2 separate regions of the Homo sapiens genome follow, and region 1 is linked to region 2. The links are contacts of gene promoters, found by promoter capture Hi-C in blood cells and fetal thymus (Javierre and others, 2016). All regions are on one chromosome and are shown on one strand. The core of a region is centred on a gene start or on the middle of the fragment in contact, and the rest is flanking DNA. Distances in the headings are between cores, read along the strand shown. Region 1 holds the start of PPM1F (protein phosphatase, Mg2+/Mn2+ dependent 1F). Region 2 holds the start of LRRC74B (leucine rich repeat containing 74B).

Region 1 (6,993 bases), core at 758-3,257, 910 kb after region 2:
TCTCGAACTCCTGACCTCAGGTGATCTGCCCGCCTCAGCCTCCCAAAGTGCTGTGATTACAGGTATGAGACACCACGCCTGGCCAACCTTTTTCTACCAAAAGAGATTCTTATTTCTTTATTCATAACTACTAATACTAATAATAGTTAGATGTAAATCCTAGATTTTTTTTCTACATATATAAATTTTTTTTATTGTTGTAAAATATACACACTATGTATCCTTTTAACCATTTCTAAGCGTACAGTTCCATGGCATTAAGCATAGTCACATTGCTGTGCAATGACCATTTCTTTCTACAGGCCTGACTTTCTTGATAGACTGTAAGCTCCCTGTAGTCAGGGAGCCCACGATGGCCCTTTGTGTACAGCAGGTGGTAAGTGTGATGGCAGAGGGAAGAGTGACTGGCGGGTGGCATGGGCTGAGGAAGCTACACCACTCTGAAGGGTGCAGTGGGCAGCAGCGCCAGGTCTTAAAAGACTCGGTTGGCTTCAGGTCAGATGGTATCCTTTTTTTTTTTTTTTTTTTTTTTGAGAGGGAGTTTCGCTCTTGTTGCCCAGGCTGGAGTGCAATGGTGGGATCTCAGCTCACTGCAACCTTCGCCTCCCAGGTTCAAGCAATTCTCCTGCCTCAGCCTCCTGAGTAGCTAGGATTACAGGCACCTGCCACCACGCGCGGCTAATTTTTGTATTTTTAGTAGAGATGGGATTTTGCCATGCTGGTCTGGAACTCTTGACCTCAGGTGATATGCCTGCCTCGGCCTCCCAAAGTGCTGGGATTACAGGTATGAGCCACCGCGCCCGGCCTTCAGGGGGTATCTTAAAGGAATTCCACAAATGAACTTGTGTAGAGGTTCATGGCTTTCAGAAATGCATTCGTTTTGTTTACCTCTCACAACTACGCTGAGAAGTACATACTGTCAGGCTACACTGCAGATGAAGAAATAGGTTATAGGAGGGCAAGCACCCATTTAAGGTCTCACACAGGTGAAAGGGCAAAGCGAACTCAATCAAGGTCTCTGGATGCCCAATGCCTTTGGTATTTCCACCTCGCGTGCAGGAGGAAAAGAGCGAAATTTGACAACAGAAGAGACTGGAGATGGCCTCAGAGTGCTGGCCGGCCCCACTTTCTATCCCCCGTGGTGAGAGCTCAGCTGGGCCCAGAGAACTTGTCCCGGGGAATGCCACCACGACATGTGTGACTCTGTCCCGCAGGGTGGAAGGCTTCGAAGGAGCCCGCCACCATGCAGTGGGCCTCACTGTGTGTCAAGCGCTGTGCCGAAATCCCTGCAGCCGGAGCCAGTTCTTCCTGTTGTACAGACAGGTTCAGGGGCTTGCCTGACCGAACCCAGCGGCAATGTGCCCGGCCTCCGCGCCTGAGGCTCTGGCTCACAGACCTGTGGCTGAAGCAGCTGCAGCCCGAGCACTTGTGCAGCTGACGCTCGCTTCACGGACGCTTGGGAGGCCGCGGAGCCGGGGGCCATCAGGCAGACTGGGCCCCTGAAGGTGCAGGGACTGGGGGGATATGGGGCAACGTGCCGGCCCAGAGGCTCCTGGGGGGTGGGGAGAGGCCAAATCTCGGAAAATGGGGCGCGTCCCCCTCAGCACCCGATTCTGCCTCATAGCCCTCGGTCCCTACCAGGCCCTCGGCTCGGCCACACCCCCGCCTGCCCCCCAGTTCTGCCCCCTTGGCTCCCCAGCCCCCCAACTCCCAGCCTCGGGTTCCTCATGTCCGCAGCGGCCCCTCTTGCTCCTCGGCCCCCCGCACTGCACCCCCGCACCCTTTCGGTGCACCCATGTGAGCCTCGTCTCGGCCTCCTTGCCTCCCCAGCCCTCTGATTCCACCCCTCCGGTTCCTCGGTCCCATTTCACCCCTGTGCGCCTTGGGCGCTCGCCTGACCCTCGTCCCAGCCCCGTCAGCCCTCTAATCCCGTCCCCCCCGGCCTCCTCACCCCTGGTCTCCGCGGGCCTCAGCTGTCTCCTCGCGGCTCCGTGTCCCGCAAGCTGCTGCCGGCCGGCCCCGCCCACTTCCCGTCCCTGGCCGCCGCGGGCGCCGCGGGCGCCGCGCAGGCGCAGTCGGGCCTCCAGGCTGGCGGGGCCGGACCTCTGCTGCCCCCTGGCGGCTACGTGGACGGTGACTGCGGCCCTTTAGTGGTAGGCGAACTGCGGCTCCACCTGGGCTCCGGAGCCGCCCCAGTCACCAGCCTCTTGCTTCTCTTCTGCAGCTTTGGGTGGGCGGCTGGATGGGGAAAGCAATCCCTAGGTCACAGCGCCCAGAAATTAAGCAACTTCTGCCGTCAATAGCTGGTAAGTGACAGAGCAGGGATGCAAACCCAGACTGCCCAGGCAGGCTCATCCGTCCGGGAAGGAGGCACAGTCCCAGGCTCATTATGAGTTGTTTGTTTCCACAAACGTTGAGGCTTTTGTTATCTTTCCGTTCTGGAGGTCAGAAGTCCACTTAGCCTCAGTGGGCGAAGATCCAGGGATCGCCAGAATGCGTTCCTTTCTGAGGATTCTAGGGGAGAAACTGTTCCCCTGCCTTTTCCAGCTCCTAAGGGCTCCCTGCATACCTTGGCTCGTGGCCCCTTCCTACAGCCTCGAAGCCAGCAATGGCCAGTTGAGCCTTTCTCACACTGCCACCTCTGGTTCCCTCCTCTGCTTCCTTCTGCTACTTCTAAAGACCCTCCTGATGCCATTGGGCCCACCCAGATAGTCCAGCATCATCTCTCTAAATCAGTTGATTAGCAACCTTAATTCCCCTTTGCCCCTTATTATTATTATTATTTTTTTTTGACACGGAGTCTCACCCTGTCACCCAGGCTGTACTGCAGTGGCATGACCTCGACTCACTGCAACCTCTGCCTCCCTGGTTCAAGCGATTTTCCTGCCTCAGCCTCCCGAGTAGCTGGGACTGCAGGCACGCACCACCATGCCCGGCTAATTTTTTTTGTATTTTTAGTAGAGATGGGGTTTCACCATGTTGGTCAGGCTGGTCTCAAACTCCTGACCTCAAATGATCTGCCTGCCTCGGCCTCCCAAAGTGCTGGGATTACAGTACAGGCGTGAGCCACTATGCCGGGTCTGCCATGTAATCTAACACAGGCACAGGTATAGGACATGAACATCTCTGAAGGGCCATTTTTCTGCCAACACAGAGGCTCTTGAAAATATTCTTTTTCTCTCTTTTTAGAGACAAGCTCCTTCTCTGGTGCCCACACTGGAGTGCAGTGGCATGATCACAGCTCACTGCAGCCTCAAACTCCTGGGCTCAAGTGACCCTCCCCTCCTGCCTCAGCCTTCCTAGTGTCTGGGAACACAGGCAAGCACCACCACGCCCAGCTGATTAAAAAAAATTTGTAGAGACAGGGTCTCTATGTTGCCCAGGCTGGTCTTGAACTCTTGGGCTCAAGTGATCCTCCTGCCTCAGCCTTCCCAAGTGCTGGGATTATAGGTGTGAACCATTACACCTGGCCAAAATATTTTATTTTAAAGGCAGAAGAAAGAAACCTTTATGTCAAAGAAAATGTTTTAATATATGATATTAATATATTCACCTTTATACCAATGCCGTTGGAAAGTATAATTTTTTAAATGGAGGATGGGGCACCAGATCTTATGTGGCTCTGCCCACCTGACCTTCAGGTCCGCAGGCCTGTGTCCTTGCCAGGAATGAATGTCTCTGGGATGCTTCTCTAACAGGAGGAACCTGGAGTGAGACCAGGAACCTGGAGAACTAGCAGCTGGGTGACTGGAAAGGAAACCATCTGGGGTGGGGTTGGGTCTGCAAGGCAGGAGGTGTCTGGGCAGAGAAAGCAGGGCTGGGGCGGAGGGTCCTGCCTCATCCCATTCTCCTGCTCACTCTTTCCTAGATCCCTGTCAGGGCAGTAACCATGAGCAAGGCTTGAGGCTACTTCTTATAAACAGTGGCCCTGGGCACATTCCTTAGCTCACCTGAGCCTCAGTTTCTTGATGAGAAAAAATCGGGACAATAGCAACCAACCTATCTCAGAGGGCTGCTGTGAGACCCTGAGCCACTGTTTCTCAAACTGCCCCTGAGATCACCTACAACAGAATGGCTGTAGGGTGAAGTTTGAGAACCGCAGTACAGGTGAGGTGGTGCGTGGGGCAGGCCCTCCCACACTGTAAAGTGCAGTGTGGTGCGGTAAAAGCTGATATTCCCGCAGGCATCCTCAGAGTGGGCCCAATTAGACTCTTGAGCACTGATTCCATTCAAGGTCTGCGGCTTAGAGAGGATGGCAAAGTGAGGCACCACCAGGAGCTTGTCCCTATGGGCTCCAGGCCAAGGACGTGCCTGGAGATGACTCCTGCCTTGTGGCGCTGTCACTGCCTCACTGTCCACATTCCATCACGCCTCAGATCCTGGCTTCCACCCTGGTGAAAGGAATCTTTCAATATCACCCACCCAGCCACAGACGCTTCTCTGCTTCTCTGGCAAGGCTGCACCCCTGGCTAGGTGGGCAGGGCCAGGGGCTCCTTGAGACAGTCTGCAGCCACTGACCTCTCCAGCCTCCAGGGCAGAGGTACAGTCCCATGGAGCGTGGCTGATCTGAAGGCAGTTCTGGCCTAAAAGGGGTCTTGTCCCTTCCTTGTCCTCATTGCTCCCAAGGCCAGGTTGGCAGCAGTAGCAGCGGGGTTGGATGCTATTGGATGGGAGAAGGTGAATGGACTCGGAGTGCAGAATCAAGCTGCGGAAGCCAAGGGCCTTGAAGGAGGGTCACACACAAGGGACAACTGCAGAGGAAAATAAAGGAACACTTTGTGATTAGCCCTGCCTGTGGCTGAAAGCGCAGTGCAGAAGCATAGTAAGGAAGGACTGGGTGGTCTGGGTTTAAGACCTAGGAACCGTCTCTGCTCCTCCAAGCCTGAATGAGCCCTATAACCTAAGGGTCCTGGAGGTCTTGAAACCTTCTGCGGAGAAGGCTCCAGGTCCACTGGGCCCTGTGGGTGGAAGAGCAGAGTCACAGCCCCGCACTGGGGACCTAACAGGTGTGGCCTTGCTAGGGCCCCAGAATGGGACCAGAGTGGGTGGGAGGGGGCAGAAGCTCTGAGAGCACCCCCTCCTTCCTGAAGCCTGTGCTTCTGAGACACATCCCAGGACCCTCTATGTGGTTCCCCATGTCTCTGTATTTTCATTCAGCTTCGAGTAGCTCTCCAAACTGTGTTCCAGGGAACCCCCGTGTTAACCTGTGAGGGCCTCCAGGAAGGGGGTCCAGGGGGGGTATGCTTGGTGGGCTCTGGGTTTCCTTACAGGAGCTCTCATATAAGTCCTGGTGCAGCCTGGGAATCTACTACTGAGTTGGGGCGGGGGCGGGTCTGAGTCCGAAACATTCCTGACCTGCCCCTCAAAGAAAGGTCCCACTGAACAGTCTGGAAAGCTGTTTTGCTGAGCTCCCGTCATCACTCAATGAGGCACGGGCGGAGTGTGGAGGGAGTTTCCAACACACAGTGGATCCCGCACAGGTGTCTCTCCTCGGGTGGCTGGGGAGGGGAGCACAAGAAGGCACTGAGGTCAGAGGGCAGCTGCCACCAGCACCTGGCACCACACGGCAGTCTGGCCTACAGGGTATTTTCTAAACCTGGCATGTGAATGGGTTCCATGGGGCACCCAGCTGCCTCTAAGACCATAAGGGCTTGTTGTGAGAATGGGAATTGCAGCAGGTCCTGGGAAGCTGCCAGACGCACACGGGCACCATGTACAGGGCTTCTCAGAGATGGGAGCAGGGAGCAGGGGACGGAGAAGTGTGGGGTCAAGAGCGTGGCCCTGAGCAGGGGGCTGCAGCGAAGACCAAGGGGATTCATAAGCCAGATCCGGGGAGGGGGTCTCCCAGCCCCACCTGCTCCACTAGACTCCTCTCCTGCCGGAGCCACAGCTGTCAAGGCCGCCTTCCTTAAGGCATCAGGGCCACTGCTTGTGCACACAGCTACCATCAGCAGCACGGATTGAGATGGGGTGTGAGTGCAAACTGGGTCTATTCCCCAGGGCTTCAGGGTTGGGGCATCCCTGCCCGTACTGCCAGGGTGTAGGGATAGCAGGGAGCACTCTGGGCACGTGTATGCAGGCTGAAGGGAGACGTATTGGGTTTCGGAGAGGGAGAGAGGGCCCCACAGGTGCCCAGGGACACGGTAACGCTCTGACATCGCTGCACCAGCAAAGGGGCCCCAGCTCTGGATAAGATAAAATGCATTTTAATAGTTTGAAGTGCCATGAGGTGTCTGCATGGCACTGCAGCCTGGGTGAGGGAGGACAGGGTCATCATACAAAGTAGGCGGCCAGGGCTGACATCTTGTCCTTGGGCCGTCTGGGGTTGGGCTTCCCAGGGGGCCTCCTGGCCCGGCCCCGCCCTCGACCCTGCCTTCTCCCTGGTCCACCGCGGTGCATGGGGTGGCAGGAGGCCGCATGCTTCAGCTCCACCAGCTCCTGGAAGACGGGGTCACAAAAGACGCAGCCCATGTGCTGCGTCTCATCGCCCGGGAGTGGGGACTTGGCCTTGTTGAAGTCCACATCAAGCAAGGCGGCCTCACAGACACTGCAGGTGTCGGCGGACACCCGCACGCGGTGGGCGTTCTCGAAGCAGTGCGCTACCACGTTGCACTTGTTGCAGGCCACCTTCCACTTGGGGCCCGAGGTGGGGTCCAGCACCAGCACCCCGCTCTCACATTCCACGCACTGGCCGATGCCCAGCATGCTCAGCGAGTGCTGGCAGGAGGGGTGCGTACACTCGTTGCAGCCCATGCCTGGCGGGAGAAGGGAGCCCTGTAAAGGCACGCCCACTGTGCCCACCTGCCCTCTGCTGCCTGCTCCCAATGCCTCAAGCTCCTGGATCCCTCGTCCCAGCAGAAGGAACTCTTCTTGGCCTTGCTCTTGGGGACAGCCTTGCTCATGTTTCGGCTCCTGGCTGCCATTACCCCTGTTTTCTGCTTACCTGAAACCTCCTCAACTTTCAAGGCCCCTCGCTGGCACCATCCCAGTGGG
Region 2 (6,573 bases), core at 1,228-3,727:
GTAGTGAAAAATGTTGGAAGGGACAGGAAGGGGTTGAGGCTGAGTCATGGGTCTGGCTGAGGCACTAGTGGATGTCACAGCCATCATGACTAGTGGATGTCACAGAGGCCATGCCAGGAGAGGGAAATAATTGATCTTTGGACATATGAGTGTGCACCTGGAAGACAGCTGTGCTCTGGGCAGGTGTTCACTGGGGCTACATACACCCTGGGAATCAGAGGAGCAGAGGTGGGTGGAAGTTAAGGCTGTGGATAAGCTGGGTGGAGGGAAGAGGAAAATGCAGCTGAGAAGGGTGGAGGAGGAGCACCTGACCGAGGTGCCCCAGGTCAGGGAGCAGGGCTACAGGAAGTTCCACGCCCTGGCCCCACCACACCCCTCCCACACCACTCTCAAGCTCAAGCCATTAGTCTCAAACACTCCCTTCTTTTCTGTTGGCAGCCTTCGGAAATGCAGTTTCTCTGGCCTGGTTTCTCAACCCATCCCTTTTTCTACCAGAAACCTCCTACACATCCCTGAAAGTCCTGTTCAGGTGCCACTCCTCTGTGAAGCCCTTCCTGAGAACCTGCAGCCACCTTTGGCATCACATGCTTCTCTCTCGCACACACTGGCTGCATGGCGGGTGTTCAAGCTGTCAGTGGGGAAAGGACTTGCGCCCCCGTCAGCAACATCAGGGCCCCCACCTGAGGTGGCTTCACGAAGTCGGCCACATCCCACAGCCGGTTTCCAAGCTCCTTGATCTGAGTCACGGAAACCCCTTTGAGTTTGGTTGTGATGGAAATCTGGGGTTCCAGGTCCCGCTCCTGGTAGCCTTTTTTGGCGAGGAGCGCCCACCTGGGAAGGAGAAGATGGGCAGTGTGGTGTCCCCCCAGCGTGTAGTGACGGGGCAGAGCTGGGCCCTACATGCTCAGTTCTCTCCCCACACCCTACAGGCTCCCAGTCCAGCATCCTCTCTGGCCCCACTTCCCACTGTAGACTCCCTGAACGAGACAGAAGCTCCAGCCATGCATCAGAGAGCCAGTGCCCTCAGACAATCACCTTCACTAGCCAGCACCCACCCCCAGCCTCAGTAGACCCAGCTCCGAGCTTATAGACTCCCCTGACCGGAGATATAGCTGGTGGTCTCTCTGGGGGCCTAGTGCTCCAGCTCTCACAGATGTTAAGGACAATGTCTTGTGCCCCCTGGGTGGGGCCGTGGGGAGGGACTGGGAAGCAGGCAGGTGGACACACAGGACAAACACACAGCTTGTTCTTGCTCTCCTGTCTTGTATTGCCTACCTCCCACCCCGTCCCATTATGGCCCCTTCCCCTCCAGCCCCTAAACAGCCCAACCCTCAACTTCAACCCAGCAGGACCAAGCCCCACCCCCGACCTCTTCCCTTGCCCCTCCAGCCTGGCCAAAAGCTCTTCTCTCTTACCCTACCACATAGACGACGATCCCAAACTGCAGCAGCCTCTGCAGGGCGCCCCCCCACCAGTTCCTGGTCATCACATACTTCTCCGTTTTATAATCCAGAAGCCCCTAGTCTGCTGTGGCCCCTGGGGAGCCCATGCTGCCAGCTCCTGCTAGCTGCGGGCACATGAGTCAGCATGGCAGCTGCAGCCGCAGCTGAACAGGAGGCAAAGCAGGGCCCGAGCCAGGCCACGCCAGCCGCTGTTAAAGGGACACTTCCACTAAAGCAGGATCCAGCCTCCAACACCCAGCCTTCAGCCCCTAACCCCAGCTGCCCTGCACCTCCCACCCTCCCTACATTCTCTTTGCTGGGCCCTGGTGGCACACAGAAAACAGCAGCTCTGTCCCTGCCCTCTGGCCTCACTTCCTCCGGTGGGAGTGGACGTGGTGAGAGGATGGGGAAGGACAGCTGTTATCAGTGCTGTGAGAAGACGGCCTGAGGGCAGCAACAGCCCCGGGGGGGCTCTGAGTAAAGCTTCAGGAATAAGTGACTTCTGAGCTGACGCTTGCAGATTCTGAAGTTCAACAAGCAGACAAAGATGGGGATGGAGGTTCCCAGGGGAGCGAACAGCGTATGCAAAGGCCAGCGCATGCAAGAGAACTGAGAGCCACAGAGTGAGAGGGTGACCTGGCTCTGCGAAGTTCCCCAGGCCCTCCTGAAAAGCCATTCCCAAGTGCAGTGAAGAAAACACAAGCTCTGGAGTCAGGCATGTTTCCCATTCCATGAAAGGGGGGCGATGCTGGAACCGCCTAGGGGAGGCAGGGGGATAAACGCAGCAAGGCGCCCAATCCGGTGCATGGTCTGTGGCGCATGCAGTGTATCAGCCCGGGCGAGGAGCCTCAGCACAAGCCGGCCACAGTTTCTACGGCAACCGACAACACCGGGTTGCCGGGGCGACCGCCGCGGGAGAGCGCGTCGCTATTGGCTGTGGGGGGTGCCTGTTGCTGGACGGCACATTCGGTTGGTCAGCGCAGCCGCAGACTCCGCCCACAATCCCGGGCCGCGCTCTGGGCGCGGGGTCAAGCTGTCTCCGACTCAGTGTCTGAGACTGCGAGAGGGTCGTAACCATGAGGGGTTCCTGTGAGAGGTCTGGGGAGGATGAAGAGCAGAAAGAAGAGGCTATGGTGGCCTGTGGGCGTCTTTCAGGGGTCCCCGAGGCCGAGCAGGGTCCCGAGGCCAATTGGGACTCCGACCTGGAGACGGAAGGTGCTCGGGGGAGGGGGCAGGCCCGACTCCTCCCCTTTGGGGGTCTTCTCCCGCAGGGGTTGGGGGAGGCGGGCTGGGGCTAAGGCCAGCAGGGAACGTACCCGCCTGCGGGGCGCCTCCAGCCCCCTGCCTTCCCTTCATTGCTCCTGGAAGCATCAGGATAAAATGCAAAATCCCGCCAGACAGTGCACCAAGGGCTGTCCCACCCTGAAATGAAATCAGAGCCGGGTTTTCCCAATCCACAGGAAAAACTAAGCTAATGGATGTATGGAATTTAGAACTATCTCGGTTTTTTCTCCCGTAAAATGTTTACAAAACATTTGTGGCCTGCAATCCAGGTTAAAAGACACAGCATGCAATTTGGCATCAGACAGGCAGAGGCCTGACTCTGGCAGGATTAGCTACCACCACTAGCTGTGGGATGCTCAGCGCAGGCCAGCCATGACTTCTACTACAAACAACATTGGGTTGCTTGGGCTCATATTTATTAATAAATAAATATATAAATAAATTATTTATTTATTAGAGCCAGGGTCTTGCTCTGTCACCCGGGCGTCAGTGCAGTGGCAGGATAATAGCTCACTGCAGCCTTGAACTCTGCACTCTAGTGAGCCTTCTGCCTCAGCCTCCTGAGTAGCTGGGACTACAGGAGACCACCACGTCTGGCTAATATAAAAATTTTTTGGCTGGGTGGGGTGGCTCACGCCTGTAATCACAGCACTTTGGGAGGCCCAGGCAGGCAGATCACCTGAGGTCAGGAGTTCGAGACCAGCCTGGCCAACATGGTGAAACCCCGTCTCTACTGAAAATACAAAAAACTAGCCCAGTGTGGTGGTGGGCGCCTGTAATCCCAGCTACTCGGGAGGCTGAGGCAGGAGAATTGCTTGAACCTGGGAGGCAGAGGTTTCAGTGAGCCGAGATCGTGCCACTGCATTCCAGCCTGGGTGACAGAGCAAGAGTCTGTCTCGAAAAAAAAAAAAAGAAAATTTGTCTAGCTATGTTGCCCAGGTTGTCCAGCTTTCTTTTGATAGCCGTATGACTTTAAGGAAAAGATTTGCGTTGCCTGAGGCTTGATGTCCTCATCTGTCATATGGGAGCAGTGGTCCCAAGAAGCACAGGAAGCAGTGCTTCTAGAGGCAAAACATAGGCCAGGTAGTGACACAGGGCAGGGGAGGACACAGGTGGCTGTAGCTGTGCAGGGTCCACATTCGTCCCCCTGTCTCCTGCCAGGCACCGATGGGCTTGGAGAACTGGTCAGGGACACACTGTACCTGAGGTCTTGCCGGGCCCATAGTGTTGTGCCCATCTCCTGCTTTCTGCGCCAAGGGAGCGCCCAAGAGCTGAACCTCCGGCACCGTGGCCTGGGGCCCCAGGTACCACTGGAGGGACACTGTATCCAGGCTTACGGGGAGAGGCCTCGGGAGACAGCAGCCATGGGAGTGCCCCTGTGTCTGTCCCCTACACTCCCCAGCTTCTGCCTGTGTCAGTCATGCCCTACCCTCCACATCTGGGAGACAGATGGGATTGAGGCTGTGACAGGTGGCGTTAAGGGTTGTGGATCCTGCAGGCTCCTAACCCGCTGGGGGGTCAGGGAGAGCTGGGGGTGGGGGGAGACCTTCACAGAGCCTAAAAGGAGAAGCAGGTGTCACTTAAAACAGGTGGGAAGGGGAGGGCTTTCCAGCTGGAGGATGTGGAGTGGGCTGAGCCCTGGAGCATGAGCCAGGATAGTGGCCAGTGTGTTTGCTCTGTCTGTCCCAGGGCGCCCGGGCTCTGGCTTCCTCATTGAGCTCCAATCCATATGTCAAGCGGCTGGACCTTCGAGACAATGGGCTCTGTGGGGCAGGTGCAGAGGCCCTGGCAGGTGCCCTGAGCAAAAGCAGCAGCATCCATGGTAGGTGCTGGGTCTGGGGCAGGTGGGCAGGCGTGTCCTCCTTTTCCTCAGGGATGTGCCTCCATCGTTGAAAGCTGGGCCGTGTCACCTGGGGCCTGCTGGTGTTGCTGGTGGATAGAAGAGGGGCCTCATCACAGGAGGGGGCATGTGGGGTGGAGTTAGACCCTCTGCTGTGCAGCCGATGCCTGATAGAAGTCCTTTCCTCACCCACCCCACACCATCACTCCCCTCCCTTGCTGGCCAGCATCCCCCTCTTCACCTAGCACATGGGAGACTCCCAGTACCTGAATGCAGGATGGGAGAGTCCTTCCACACAGAGAGGTGGGAGTTGGGCATTGTAAGAAGCAGGTAGGCAATGTGGGAGTTTGATGGGGCTGGATCCAAATGCCAGTTCTGCCACTGAAGAGCTGGATACCTGGGCAAGCAGCTTAACCTCTCTGAGCTTCAGTTTCTGATCTGTGAAATGGCCCCCAAAATACCTTATGGGCTTGGGGCTGTGGTGAGCATGAAGTGAAATGCACTCCTGAAGTGGTCAGAAGAGTGTGTGACCCATGTACGTGCTCCATGCATGGCCACTTGGGCTATTATTGCCAATCCTGGCAACGGGGCTGTGAGGGCTTCTGAAGTGGGTGGTGATATCACTGCCAGATGCAGCCATCGACGGTATAGCTGCCCCCCACCACAGCAGTCTCTACAGTACCAGGAGGTAGGCGGTTTTAACCACTTGACACAGAAGCTGGTGGGCACACAGGGAGGGGGAGGTCAGGGGCAGAGGGGACCCAGCCATTGGGAGCCAGAGCCACCATGCAACCCCAGGACAGTTAACCTGTAAGTCCCCTTCCTCAGCCTCAGACCTGGAGGTTTGGGGGATGGCAGAAGTAGGGGAGTGCCTGGCTTTGCATCCCACTGGCCGAGGAGTGGTTCTGTCCCCCAGATGTGGACCTGTCGGAGAACCAGCTGGGAGTGGCAGGAGCCCAGGCCCTCTGTGCCGCCCTCACAGTGAACCAGGCCATGCGGAAGATGCAGCTGTCAGGGAATGGCCTGGAGGAGCAGGCGGCCCAGCACCTTGCCGAACTCCTGCTGGCCCACACAGACCTGAAGTCCCTGGACCTGAGCTACAACCAGCTGAATGACCAAGCAGGTAACGCCTGCGCAGGGCACCATGGCCATGAAAGCTCAGCTTCCTGGGGCAGGGATGGGTGGGGGTTGGCAGGACCGCGCTGCACATCGCCAGGGAGCATGTGCTCTGGTTCCTGCTCCCCACACCCCACCTTGCCCCACTCCTCTTCCACTCCAGCCACACGGAACTCTTCATTCCTTCCACAAATATCTCATTGCGCGCTGCTGTATGTGCTGGGCACTGACTTAGCCACCAGGGATCCACCTTGAACAAAACCAAGTTCCTGACCTCAAGGGACAATGTTAACAACATCATTCTGAGTAATTATTGGTGCTACAAAAGAAACAAATAGTTTATGATTCTAGAGAAGAACAGGGACCCCCTACTTTAAAGAGGTGGCTGGGGAGGCCTCTGTGAGGTGACATTTAAGCTGAAATGTGCAGGGTGGGAAGGAGTCAGCCATGGCAAGATCAGAGGGAGAGCATTGCAAGCAGAGGAATAGTGAGCATGCGGGCCTGTTTCCCAGACTGGCGGACAGCAGTGTGCCTAGGCTAGGGAGCCAGGGAAGCGTGGCCAGGCTGTGGGGTGGAGAGGGCAGAGGGGGCTGCAGGGCTGTAGGCCGTGGCAAAAACGGTGAAGATTTTGTTTCAAGTGAGGTAGCGGATGTGATTGGGATTCCTTGATCTCATCACTGTCATGCCCCTGAGCATATTCAGGAGCTGTCTGCTTTGCCAGGAATTTGCACTTCTACCTGCCTCTCCTCAAATGGTCCAATAATGGTAAGGATCACCTGAGACCCTGGGTTAGGCATGCAGATGCTGACCCTGGACCTGCTGAACCAAACTCTTAGGGGAATGCTGGTGAATCTGTATTTTAATGGTTGCCCCAGGAGAATCGTCTTTTTA

What was found. Contacts are between HindIII fragments. The CHiCAGO score rates a contact against its expected background, and 5 or more counts as called.
Region 1: a contact is called between the fragment with the promoter of PPM1F here and the fragment with the promoter of LRRC74B in region 2, in 2 of 17 cell types (M2 macrophages and M0 macrophages). The highest score is 7.3, in M2 macrophages.

What each region holds. Positions count from the first base shown.
Region 1 is chr22:21,950,841-21,957,833 of GRCh38, forward strand. PPM1F (protein phosphatase, Mg2+/Mn2+ dependent 1F) reads right to left here and starts at 2,008. Exons shown (of 8, transcript NM_014634.4): 1 at 1,952-2,008. It overlaps TOP3B (DNA topoisomerase III beta), which reads right to left. Exons shown (of 18, transcript NM_001282112.2): 18 at 6,185-6,755. The coding sequence ends at 6,274. RefSeq lists enhancers at 1,161-1,230, 1,277-1,797 and a silencer at 1,791-2,200. The HindIII fragment of the contact is 22,373 bases long and covers 1-6,993 here.
Region 2 is chr22:21,043,469-21,050,041 of GRCh38, forward strand. LRRC74B (leucine rich repeat containing 74B) reads left to right here and starts at 2,478. Exons shown (of 10, transcript NM_001291006.2): 1 at 2,478-2,657; 2 at 3,888-4,030; 3 at 4,416-4,548; 4 at 5,483-5,689. The coding sequence starts at 2,519. It also overlaps the pseudogene P2RX6P. The HindIII fragment of the contact is 8,622 bases long and covers 1,924-6,573 here.